Regions from separate parts of the Homo sapiens genome. Here regions 1, 2 and 4 are each linked to region 3. Evidence: promoter capture Hi-C in human tissues and cell types (Jung and others, 2019). All regions are on one chromosome and are shown on one strand. Each heading gives the region's core, a stretch centred on a gene start or on the middle of the fragment in contact. The rest is flanking DNA. Distances are from core to core; before and after follow the strand shown.

Evidence for each region. The method cuts DNA at HindIII sites, captures the fragments that hold promoters and counts their contacts. A contact is called where the count stands out against the background at its distance.
Region 1: a contact is called between a fragment that was not itself captured here and the fragment with the promoter of TFAP2C in region 3, in 1 of the 25 tissues and cell types used here (mesendoderm cells).
Region 2: a fragment that was not itself captured here is called in contact with the fragment with the promoter of TFAP2C in region 3 in 2 of the 25 tissues and cell types used here (mesenchymal stem cells and thymus).
Region 4: a contact is called between a fragment that was not itself captured here and the fragment with the promoter of TFAP2C in region 3, in 3 of the 25 tissues and cell types used here (H1 embryonic stem cells, mesendoderm cells and neural progenitor cells).

What each region holds. Positions count from the first base shown.
Region 1 is chr20:57,043,861-57,046,560 of GRCh38, forward strand. No RefSeq gene overlaps it. Among named protein-coding and RNA genes, the nearest start is that of BMP7-AS1, 170 kb to the right of the region's middle. RefSeq lists an enhancer at 859-1,360. The HindIII fragment of the contact is 6,368 bases long and covers 1-2,700 here.
Region 2 is chr20:57,060,207-57,063,077 of GRCh38, forward strand. No RefSeq gene overlaps it. Among named protein-coding and RNA genes, the nearest start is that of BMP7-AS1, 150 kb to the right of the region's middle. The HindIII fragment of the contact is 4,827 bases long and covers 1-2,871 here.
Region 3 is chr20:56,628,052-56,630,751 of GRCh38, forward strand. It overlaps TFAP2C (transcription factor AP-2 gamma), which reads left to right and starts at 1,255. Exons shown (of 7, transcript NM_003222.4): 1 at 1,255-1,541. The coding sequence starts at 1,494. RefSeq lists silencers at 1,166-1,225, 1,282-1,576. The HindIII fragment of the contact is 13,903 bases long and covers 1-2,700 here.
Region 4 is chr20:56,929,266-56,932,089 of GRCh38, forward strand. No RefSeq gene overlaps it. Among named protein-coding and RNA genes, the nearest start is that of BMP7-AS1, 280 kb to the right of the region's middle. The HindIII fragment of the contact is 8,822 bases long and covers 1-2,824 here.

The sequences.
Region 1 (2,700 bases), core at 38-2,537, 420 kb after region 3:
CCAAAATGCGTGCTGAACACACAAGGATCACTCACCCTGGACCGGCACTCTGAGCAGGGCGTCTGAGCCTTTGATTCCTATTTTCTGCTTCTAGGGATGCGTGCTGCTGCTTTAACTTCCCCACTGCCTTCCCCTGTCCACAGAGAGGGGCGGACATGCGGGACCAAAGACCGTGTTTCTGACTCTGGTCTCAAAGGTCATCCCTCGTTTCTTCCTCCAGCGACGTTCAGCGAGCCCTGGCTAGGGGCCAGGTACTGTGCTGGGACAGGCACTGGTGCCACAGCAGCGAGGAAAACAGACAAAAATCCCTGCCCTTCTGGATATGGATATTTGGGGCCCTGTGAAAGACCAAGCAAAGATGCACTGATTTTTCTTCTATGCCAAAAGAAAGCCTGAATGTATTCATTCAAACCCACGTTTCCATCTTTTGAGTACTTTCTACATGCCAAGCCCTGTGCTGGACCCGAGTCTAGCCCCTCTTCTCTGGAGCAGCTCTTGCCTCTTGGCAACACCGCATGTATAGAAAATGGTAGCATCTAGACAGTGTCCTGGGCTTAGGCAGCCAGGCTCTGGGGAGTCCGTTATGAGGCTTGGTGAAAAGCTTCATGGCATTTAAAGTACTGTGTAATGATAATAAAGACAAAATACAAAGGATTACGGGGTATATTTAATACTGAGTTTTGTTTAAAGCTTCCAAATAAAATCTTCTTACCTTAAAAAAAGAACTTGAACTTGCTTCCATATAGGTTCCTAGCTTATGCCAGATTTTATGCTTGACATGATAGCACACAATTTCTCAGCAAGAATTTTGTTAGGGATATCTGGAAATTACTAATTGCCACTCTTTATGAGAAATTTTGAATAAATAAGGAATATATTTTTTAAAATCATTTTTAAAACAATATTCAAAAAAGGAACATAAAAGAACAGGTGAAAATTATATTGAAAGAATCCAAAGATTCTTTTAACAACATAAAATATTGTAATTTCTTACGATTGTATGCAAGAATTCCAAACTGAACTTTTCCATACCACGTACTTCGAAATAACAGTGATGCTCTAATTTGGAGAACAGACATGAACTGTGAGTGCGGTGACTCTGAAGCCAGCTTGGATGATGCTAAAAGGACACATCAGCTGCAAATCAACACCAGCTGGGCTCTGGGCCATCTGGACCCTGCCCACCTGCAGCCTCCACCCAGCCTCCTGCCTCCACCTCCCTCCAGCTACACCTGGGGTGGCACATCATTCACCTTCAGCACCTGAGACACGAGCTCCCTCAGCGCCCCCAGGGGCCCTTGTCCATGAGAGCAGAGGTGTGCTTGCTGTGGGATGTGGACGAAGATGCTGAGATGCTGGAGGATCTCCTGGTTGAACCTGGAGCATCAGGCAGAGCAGAGTTTGTGCCGGTTGTGTGGGGAGTATGGGGCAGCCATTCACCTCACCCAGCTTGGGCCATCCTCCGAGGGTCCCTAGAGGAGGCTCCAGGCAGGGGATGGCTGGAACTGGAGCCCTGCAGACTTGGGTCTCTGACCACCCTAATCCCTGAGCACCATGTTATGCACTGGTAGCTCACCTGTAGGGCTAGAGCAGTGGTTCTTGAAGTGGGGTCCCCGGGCCTGCAGCATCAGCAGCATCGGGGAACTTGTTAGAAATGCATATTCTTGAACAAAAAACCAAACACCGCATATTCTCACTCATAGGTGGGAATTGAACAATGAGAACACATGGACACAGGAAGGGGAACATCACACTCTGGGGACTGTTGTGGGGTGGGGGGAGGGGGGAGGGATAGCATTGGGAGATATACCTAATGCTAGATGACGAGCTAGTGGGTGCAGCGCACCAGCATGGCACATGTATACATATGTAACTAACCTGCACATTGTGCACATGTACCCTAAAACTTAAAGTATAATAATAATTAAAAAAAAGAAAGAAAAAAAAGAAATGCACATTCTTTCCCCCCATCCCTCTGCACTCTGCGTTTTAACAAGTCCTCCAGGTGATTCGGGTGCATGTTCAAGTTCAAGAAGCCCAGGTCCAGAATTGCTTCTTGTGTCTTACCAGCCTTCTTCTCAGCTATCTCGATCTGTTGGAGGTCCCCCTCTGCCAGGGAACAGTAAGACCCTGCGAACAAAACTTCGCTATTGCATCACCTGGAGAGAAATGCAGATTCTTGGGCCCCACTCCAGACCCATGGGGGATGATTCAAAGGTAAAGTTTGAGAATGAGGGACAATCTTGTTAAAACGAGTTGCTGGTTTGAGAACCTGCAATTCTTTGTCTTTTCTCTTTTCTTTTCTTTTCTTTCTTTCTTTCTTTCTTTCTGTCTTTCTTTCTTTTTTTTCTTTTCTTCTTCTTTTTTTTTTTTTTTTTTTTGAGACAGGGCCTCATTCTGTCAGTCCAGGCTGGAGGACAGTGGCACAATCTCGGCTCACTGCAACCTCTGCCCCCGGGGCTTAAACGATTCTTCCACCTCAGCCTCCTGAGTAGCTGGGACTACAGGTGCTCATCACTACACCTGGCTAATTTTTGTATTTTTTTGTATTTTTTTTTTTTTTAGAGACAGGGTTTTGCTGTGTTGCCCAGGCTGGTCTCCAACTCCTTGACTCAAGAGATCCGCCCACCTCCACCTCCCAAAATGCTGGGATTACAGCTGTAAGCCACTGTGCCCGGCCAAGAACCTGCATTTCAAACA
Region 2 (2,871 bases), core at 124-2,623, 430 kb after region 3:
CTGTATAAATGTAATGCTGGGAGACACAAACTCTTTTTCAGAATATTAGAAAGGAACCATCTCAGGACAGAGGCAATGGGGAAGTGGGTGGGGTGCGGGTGAGCAGGGCTGTGAAGTCTTGAGATTTGCCTCTGCGGTTGCTGACAGAGAACGAGTTATTATTATTATTATTATTATTATTATTATTATTATTTGAGACAGAGTCTCACTCTGTCGCTCAGGCTGAAGTGTAGTGACACAAAGTCAGCTCACTGCAATCTCCACCTCCCAGGTTCAAGCAACTTCACCGTGGAGACAGTTTTCTTATTAAATTGCTTGTACTCTCTTAGAAGGATTACTCATTTGATCAGCGGGAGGAACCACTCCCAAAATACCTTTTGAGTCATTTGGGGTTTCTATTGCCTTTTGCATAAACTTTGAATTATTCTTTTTGTTGAAAAGGTTACTATTAGGAAACACGTTCACAGGCAGTCTGTAAATGTCATCATATTTCAGCTGGGGACAGAGCTACACGAGGGTTTGGAGGAGGCGGCTCAGGGAGAAGGCAGCACCTCAGCCTGTTCTCTCAATGCACTGGCTGCAAGGAGCAGCTGCAACCCAGAGCCCACTGGGCCCAGACACCTAGCTGCCACATTTCCAGGGGTGGGCCTGCTCATGACGCAGGCAAGACAGGAAAACCGGGACAAGCTCCTGACCAGGCAGAGGTCAGGGACAGCTGCTCAGGTGCCACCAAGCATGAGGCAGGGCACCACCCAAGGCTTCCTGCCCAAACCTGTGGCATGCCCTGTTGGTGCTTTGCTGAAACTGTCCTTCTCTAAGAAGGCAATGAAGACAGTTGTCCCAGGCCCCAAAAAGAAGCACTCACTCCCTTTCCCATGAGACCACCAGTTTCGGATAGAGATTCTGTTTGGCTGGCGTTCTCAACTCATTAGAATTGGAATTAAAGAGCAGGGATGGGAAGTGACATTACAAACTCCGATGCCCAGGCCCCATCCCCGACTAACTGAATCAGAAATGCTGGGAGGCGAGCTCAGGACATTATGTTTTTAAAACGCACCAGGTGAGGCTGACACGCAGCCAGGGCTCAGAACCATGGATTTCAGCCAAAAAGGCTTTAGCCCAAGAAGACCGTGCAAATACAAAATGCCAAAGGGAGGGTCATCAGGTGAGTTTCATAGAATTCTGATTCTCCTCCTAATAAAGTACGTCCCTGGTAGCTGAGAGATGGGAGAGCAGCTCCACATGTGGGACCTGCCAGGGGGATTCGGCATTCCTGCGGCCCCCTCTGCTGGCCATGATGCTCTCAGATTCTTTGCTGAAAGGGAACGGACATAGGAGCCATCCCACTAAACTCTTCAAAGGACGCTTCTCAGATGCCGGAGTCCACAGAGTAGGGCAACATACAAAGCAAGCACCCAAAACACTGGGGGTGAGAGTCTCAAACCTTGTACTCTGTAATTACATCCAGCATCACCATCACTTCTCAAAAGAGAAGACACTTTCCCAGCAAAAATAGAAAAGGAAAGCAGTTGCAGAATAGTTAAGACTGAGCCCTGAGACATCAGTTTAGCCTTGAGAAAAAAACTACTTCCATTGTCCACATTTTTCTTAGCTGGATTCCTACCAATGAACCCCTGCTGGGACTTGAGTTTGGGGGGCACTGAGTGAAGTAAGAACTTTTAGTTAAGAAATTATTCTTTGGCCGTGGTTGTAATATCGTAGTCAGGGATGGCTTCACGGGCATGTGTCCAGGGCCCCACACTTAGAAGCATCCTGCCCTGGGTTTAATGCTCTCTTGAAATTCTTCATAATTTTTGGACAAGGAACTCCGCCTTTTCATTCTGTACTGGGCCCTGCAAATTCTGTACCCAACCCTGATTTTCACTGGTGGATTTATGTAAACGTGTGTCTTTCAGTTAGTCAATAAATATGTCTTGGACACTTATCGGTGCCGGTTTCCGAGGACACACCATGTGCAGTATCGCTGAGGGCAGGATCCAGAGTGTGCCTGCCTCAGAAAGCTTTGCTTCTGGAGGGGCCACAGGGAAAATGTTCACCAATAGGAAAGCCTATAAATAAGATCATTGAAAAGATTGGGAATCTGACAAGGATATCTATGTGAAACAGGAGAGTTCCCTGAACCCCCTTGCAGGATGTGCAACAAGGGTACGGCTCATGTGTGTGCTCAAACCCCTTACAGGAGGGAGAGCACGCAGACAGGCAGGTGCAGGAGATAGGGTGAGCACCCCTGGGCTCCAGCCCCACAACAGCATCCAGGAGGTGGGATCCTGTGACTCCCGAAGCCCAAGTAGGCGTGTGTTACAGTGTGCTCTTTTAGCCTTGCCATCCATGGAGGGCTTAAGTGTTAACCAGCTCAGTCTTGGTACACAGGTCCTTGTCCAGCATTCAGGAAGAATCAGGTCACACATGGACTTGAAGGATGGTGAATGCAGGGATTTTATTTGGTGCTGGAGGTGGCTCTCAGCAGGACAGATGGGGACCTGGAAAGGGAATGGCGTGGGAAGATGATCTTTCCCTGGAGTTTGGCTGTCCCTGGGCCGATCTCTCTGACTGTCCCCAGCAGACGTTCAGACGCTCCTTCTCTTCTCTCCTCCTCCACCACTCCATTCTTCTGCTCATCTGCTCGTGGAACCTGGGTTTGGGGTTTATATGGGTACAGGATAGGGGGCCATGGCAGGCCAAAAGGCAACATTTGGGCATGAAAACAGGAGTGCCTGTTCCCATTTAGGGTTGCAGGTTTCCAGGCTTTGGGGCGGGGCCTCTGCCAGGGAGCTGCCCTCTTCCACCCAGTATTTCCCTGTCTCTTGTCTGTGTCACATGGAGGCTATAAAATGGGTAAAGTGTGGCAGG
Region 3 (2,700 bases), core at 5-2,504:
TGATTATTGCAAAATCGTATTCAGTATCAAATAGAAATAGTCTTGTCCTCTAATCCCCACAGAATGTTTAAATCCAGCCCAGGGAGCCAGTTGGGGCGTCCCAACAAATACGCCCTCGAGAATTAGCGATGTTCCCCTTACAATGAAAGTCAATTGCTGCATAATAACTGGGCCAAAGAATTTCGTTAGTTTAAATTTTAAAAATTAGTATTGCACTTTGCTTTCAAGTTTGGGTGGCAAGTACCGAAGGGGAGAGGGAAGCAGCGTTTGTGTGGAAGGAAGTTTCGTTTTCTGTCTAAACATGTGGGACCTGGGTGTCTACCTCTCCAGTCGAGAGCTCTCTGCAGGCTCTCTCCCAACTTCCTGCACCTCCTCACCCTCACCTTACCCGTGGCGCTCGGGTTTTATTCCTGCCCGGCGCTTCTTTCCCAGGGCGAGTAGAGGCTTCTGAGTGACCGGCCCGCCAGAGGCAGCTGCAGAGCCGGCGTTCCGCAGGGCAGGGCAGGGCCGGGCCGCTGGGCTGGTCCAGTGCGCGCGGGTTCCCCCTGGCCTCAGCCAGCCGCGGGAGATGCCACTTCGGGCGACAGCGGCGAGACGCCGCTGTCCGCAACTCCTGGGCGGGTAGGACCGTCTGCTGCCTCTGCGGCCCTTGGGGCAGACTCCCCAGGAGTCCCTTCCTCTCTCCTCCCGCCCGGGGGCCGGGACCGCGCTGTGCCCACGGAGGGAACTGGGCGTCTCTGGCGCACTGGGGCTCCAGCTGCATGATCCCAGCTCAGACCTTAAGCCTCAGTGGGGTGTAGGTGGGATGGGATGTGTTTTTAGGAGATGAGGAGACCCCGGTTGTTGAGTCGCTCCCCAAATGCGCAGTTTCTTAACTCCAGGTGACATCCGTCTTTTGGAGGAACGAGTGAAGGCCGTTTAGGCGAAAGAGGGGTGGGTTTCAGTATTTGGATCCCTTCCCCCAGCTCTGCCAATCTCAGGTGTGTTTACGGTGGAGGTGACAGAAGGAAGGCGCGTCGGGGGACCCAGGCCTCGCAGGTCTTCGGCTGTCAACGAGGCACCGCCCACTGACTCCGCGCTTCGTCCCTCACAGCGTGGGGCTCGGCGCTGCGCCAGGCCCGGGTGCGGGGCGGAGCTAGGCTGGGACTGGCTGGGGGCCGCCCCGCCCGGCGCCTGGGCCTCCGCGCCGGCCCCCGGGGAGGAGTTATGATAATTTCCTTCTCATTAAGGCGCTCGGGTCCCCCGGCTATCGCCAGGACACACTGTTCGGGCGCGGCTTTCCCCGTCCGCGGAGCGGTCTTGACACTCGCGGCGGCAGCATCTACGCTCGCAGAGCCGCCGATGCGTGTCCAGTGACCCGGACAGCAAGGCCCGCGCGCGGCGGGGGCGGCGGCAGACGCCTGGTCACCGTGACCCCGATTTTGGATTTACCGCTTGGGGGCTGGGGGGATCCTGGATTTAACTGGCGACTGTTTTGGGGGACGCCGGACGCCATGTTGTGGAAAATAACCGATAATGTCAAGTACGAAGAGGACTGCGAGGTGAGCTGGGGCTCCGGGGTGCAGCCCCGCCCCGCCGAGGACAGTCCGGGAGGCAGGGGCCACTGGACCGAGGTCGGGGACGAGGGCATAGGAGCCCTGGCCTCTCGGTGGGACGGGATCCACTTCTCCGGACACCCCTTAGTCCATTTCTGCGGGGCCCCTTTCCTGTATAGGGCCTTTTCCTAAATAGCCTCCCCTCGGGAACGAGGCCTGGAAAGAGAATGGCAAATCCCACCCACACAGCTTACCGGGCGCTTTCCTAAGCGGCAAACAGCCCTGCTTCCCGTTTTCTCGGAAAAGTGCCCCGTCTGCAACCCTCAGACGTGGCTTTTACGCACGAAGTCTCTGTCCAAAGGGGTCAGATGAGGCTACCTGCTAGCGACACCTTGGCGGACACTCCTCCAAGGCCGGCTTGTCACCTGCCCCGCTACCTCCTCGGGGAAGCACGAAAACAACCGAAGTTTGGCTTTCAAAAGAAGTGGGGGCTGGGGAGTGGTGGTGGGGGTGCCCGAGGCCAGATGGGGCCGTAAGAGCTCGCGAGTGCTCCAGCCTGTCGGACAGGTTGAGCTAGAGTTTCGGAGAGTGGGAGGGAAGAAGGAGGCGGCGAGCGGGAAGAGGAAGAAGACGCAGGCAGCGCTAGGCGAGCTCAGGGGCGCCGGGAGCGCGGAGCTCGGGCTACGGACTCGCGGGAGTTCACTGCGCCTCCGGGCCCTGGAGGGCTGCCCCTGCCCGCAGGCCCGGGCGCTTCCGCCAGGAGGCGACAGCGCCATGTTCCTCCAGGTTCCCGGCGCCCCGAGACCCCTGGGCAGATGGGGACGCATCCTTTAGAAACTGAGTCGGGCCGCCCAGGGGCGAGGGAACGTGCGCGGGCAAGGCTGCCCAATTTCCAGGGTTCTTCATGCCCCCTCTGCGCCCCGACGTGCGAGAACACTGCCCTTGGCAGTGCAGGGCGCCCCCACTTATTACTCCCCTCGGCTGGGCCCGGCCAGCAGGGAGGGCCGCCCTGTGCGCGCGCTCCCTCTTCACTTCCCAGGGCGGCGCAGGGTGGCGGGCCCTGCTTTCCGAGCGCCGCCCGCTCGGAGGTCTTTGTCCCGAGGGCGTGGAAGGGAGGGTCCCGGGGGCGGGGGAGGTGCGCATTTCCCGCGCCGCGCACTCTATC
Region 4 (2,824 bases), core at 227-2,726, 300 kb after region 3:
CTTCTCAGAGTAAGCAGCTTTTTTCACCCCAAGGAAAATGATTCTTGGTCATCATTTTGGATATTGACACGAATCTGGAACATTATTCTGCATTTGAACATTTGTAAAGACTTTAGTGACATGAAAATGTATTTCTGCTACAACAAGATTTTAATCTAACTTCATTGACTGTTGTTTCAGAAAAATAACATTTGCATTGGTTTAAGAAAATTTTTACCTTACAATTTTCATCTCCTCTTCCTTGTTGCCTATAAATATTTTTAAGAAACTGGAAATAAATGACCTGCAAACAGCCAAAGGGGGACAAAAGTGTTCTGGTGTTCAAGGCTGGGAGGTCTTTTTTTCCCCCTAACTCTTGAAAGGAAACTGTCCATTAGCTCTTAGATGAAGTTCTCAGGTGTTTGTGCCTTCAGCAAGCTGTGGTGAGTCTGAGCAAAATGAAGCTGCGATGCATCAGAGAGTTAAATGTAAATAGCTCCTCCTTGCAGGACGCTTGGCTCCCGCTGTACGTAGGTGGAGTTTGGAATCTGGGGTCCCACAAACCCCTTGCATTTTTGGTTGATTGTCTTTAATTACTTTTGAGTGCTGAGCAAGGTTGCTCATGCCTCCAGGCGTCCATGACAGACAAGGAATGTTTTTTAATGCCATGTATAAGGAGCACGTCATTAAGCATCAAACAGAGCAAAAATGACAAGAATAGCGAGTGTATCATTATGGCCTTCATTTAAGTAGAAAATACAGTAAACAGAAAGAAAAACCAACTACACGGGGTAATGGGGAGCGGATTTATTTGTTTCGATTGCCGACTATTCAGAAAGGCATTTATACTCGGATTCTCACCGCACTCACCGAAGCTTTAATTTCTCAGGTTGAAGGATGAAGGGACAAAGGGGGAGGAGGGTGAAGCGAGCAAAGGGGTTCTCATCTACCCTCAAGAAAACAAGTTAAATGCCACTTTAGTGTCTAAAGGGAAAAAGTTATCACTAATTATTTTTTATAATTTCTTTCTGGGGAGAAGAGTAAAATATGGAGATGTTCCCATGTTGCCAGAGTTAAGCCCATCACATTTAGCAAATCAAACTACGGGACACTCAATTAAATGTTAATTTTAGATAAACGATAATTTTTTTAAGGATAAGTCTTTCTCACGCAATATTTGGGACATACTTATACTAAAAAAAAGAGTATTCATTGTTTATCTAAAATGAACATTTAACGGGGTCTCCTGTGTTTAATTTGGCAACCCTTTTAGAGGTAGGAATCCAAATGCTGGCTCCTTATAATTCCATCATCTGTGCATCTGGATCACAGGAAAATTAAGTGCCACTCCACTCCATAAACAGAGAGATTAAATAGGGGGCACGTATGATAGTCAAAAGGATAAATAATATTATCAGTGAGTTATACTTTATACCCAACAGCATACGTTTGTATTAGCAACAATGGGCACATGTGGAATTGCAATGGTGGACCCCGTGAATCTGCACTGTGGAAGTAGAGAGGTGGACACTTGTGTTACCGGAAAGGGGTCCCGATCCAGACCCCAAGAAAGGGTTCTTGGATCTCACACAAGAAAGAATTTGAGGTAAATCCTTAGAGTAACATGAAAGCAAGTTTATTAAGAAAATAAAGGAATCAAAGAGCGGCTACTCCATAGGCAGAGCAGCCCTGAGGGCTGCTGGTTGCCCATTTTTATGTTTTTTTTAAATTATATGTTAAACAAGGGGTGGATTATTCATGAGTTTTCCCAGGAAAGGCATGGGCAGTTTCGGAGCTGCGGGCTCCTCCCCTTTTTAGACCGTATAGGGTAGCTTCCAGACGTTGCCATGACATCTGTAAACTGACATGGTGCTGGTGGGAGTGTCTTCTAGCATGCTAATGCATTATAATTAGCAGGTTATGAGCAGCGAGGACACCAAGAGGTCACTCCTGTTGCCATCTTGGTTTTGGTGGGTTATGGCTGGCTTCTTTACTACAACCTGTTTTATTGGGCAGGTCTTTATGACCTGGATCTTGTGCTGACCTCCTATTTCATCCTGTGATTAGAATGCCCAACCAATGGGAAATGCAGCCCAGCAGGTTTCAGGCTTATTTTACCCAGTCCCTATTCAGGATGGAGTTGCTCTGGTTCAAACGCCTCTGACACTTGAACCGAGGATCGTGGCGGAAAGGGCTGGACATGGAGATTCAAGGAATGGCCTCTGGCCACTTCCTGGTGGTGTGGCCCTGAGAAAGCTGCTTAAACTCCTACACCCTGGGTTTCCTCATCTGTAAAACACAAATAACTGTACGTGTCTCCAGAACTTGTACTCTCCGAGATAACACAAGTAAAGCCTGAAGCTCAGGGATGGACGAAGAGCCCTCGAGAAACCGTGGGTGTCCTGTGGAGAGACAGTGCTGCCTCACGGTTAAGGACACTGGGAGTGAGGGAGAGACAACAGAATTTTGGTAGCTTCCTGTCCTTGGGCCAATGACTTCACTCTCAGAGTATTCTTTTTTTTTTTTTTTTCTGCTGACTATCCTTTTAAAATTTAAACTGCAATCAGCCCTTTAAAATGGAAATGAGATCTCGTCATTCCCCTGTTCAAAGATCTCAAATGGCTCCATACCACACTTGGAATAAAAGCCAGGCCTTTTACATTCCCTAGGAGACCCCATGTGATGTCCCCACCACCCACCAAGGGAACTGTCACTTTGGCCATGCTGGCCTCCTCTCAACTCCTCAGACCTCCAACAGCACTGGGACTGGGGGAGGCAAGAGGGGTACCCGGTGTGCAGGATTTATGGAGGCCTTTGCTTTCAGGATCATGCGAGTTTTCACAGG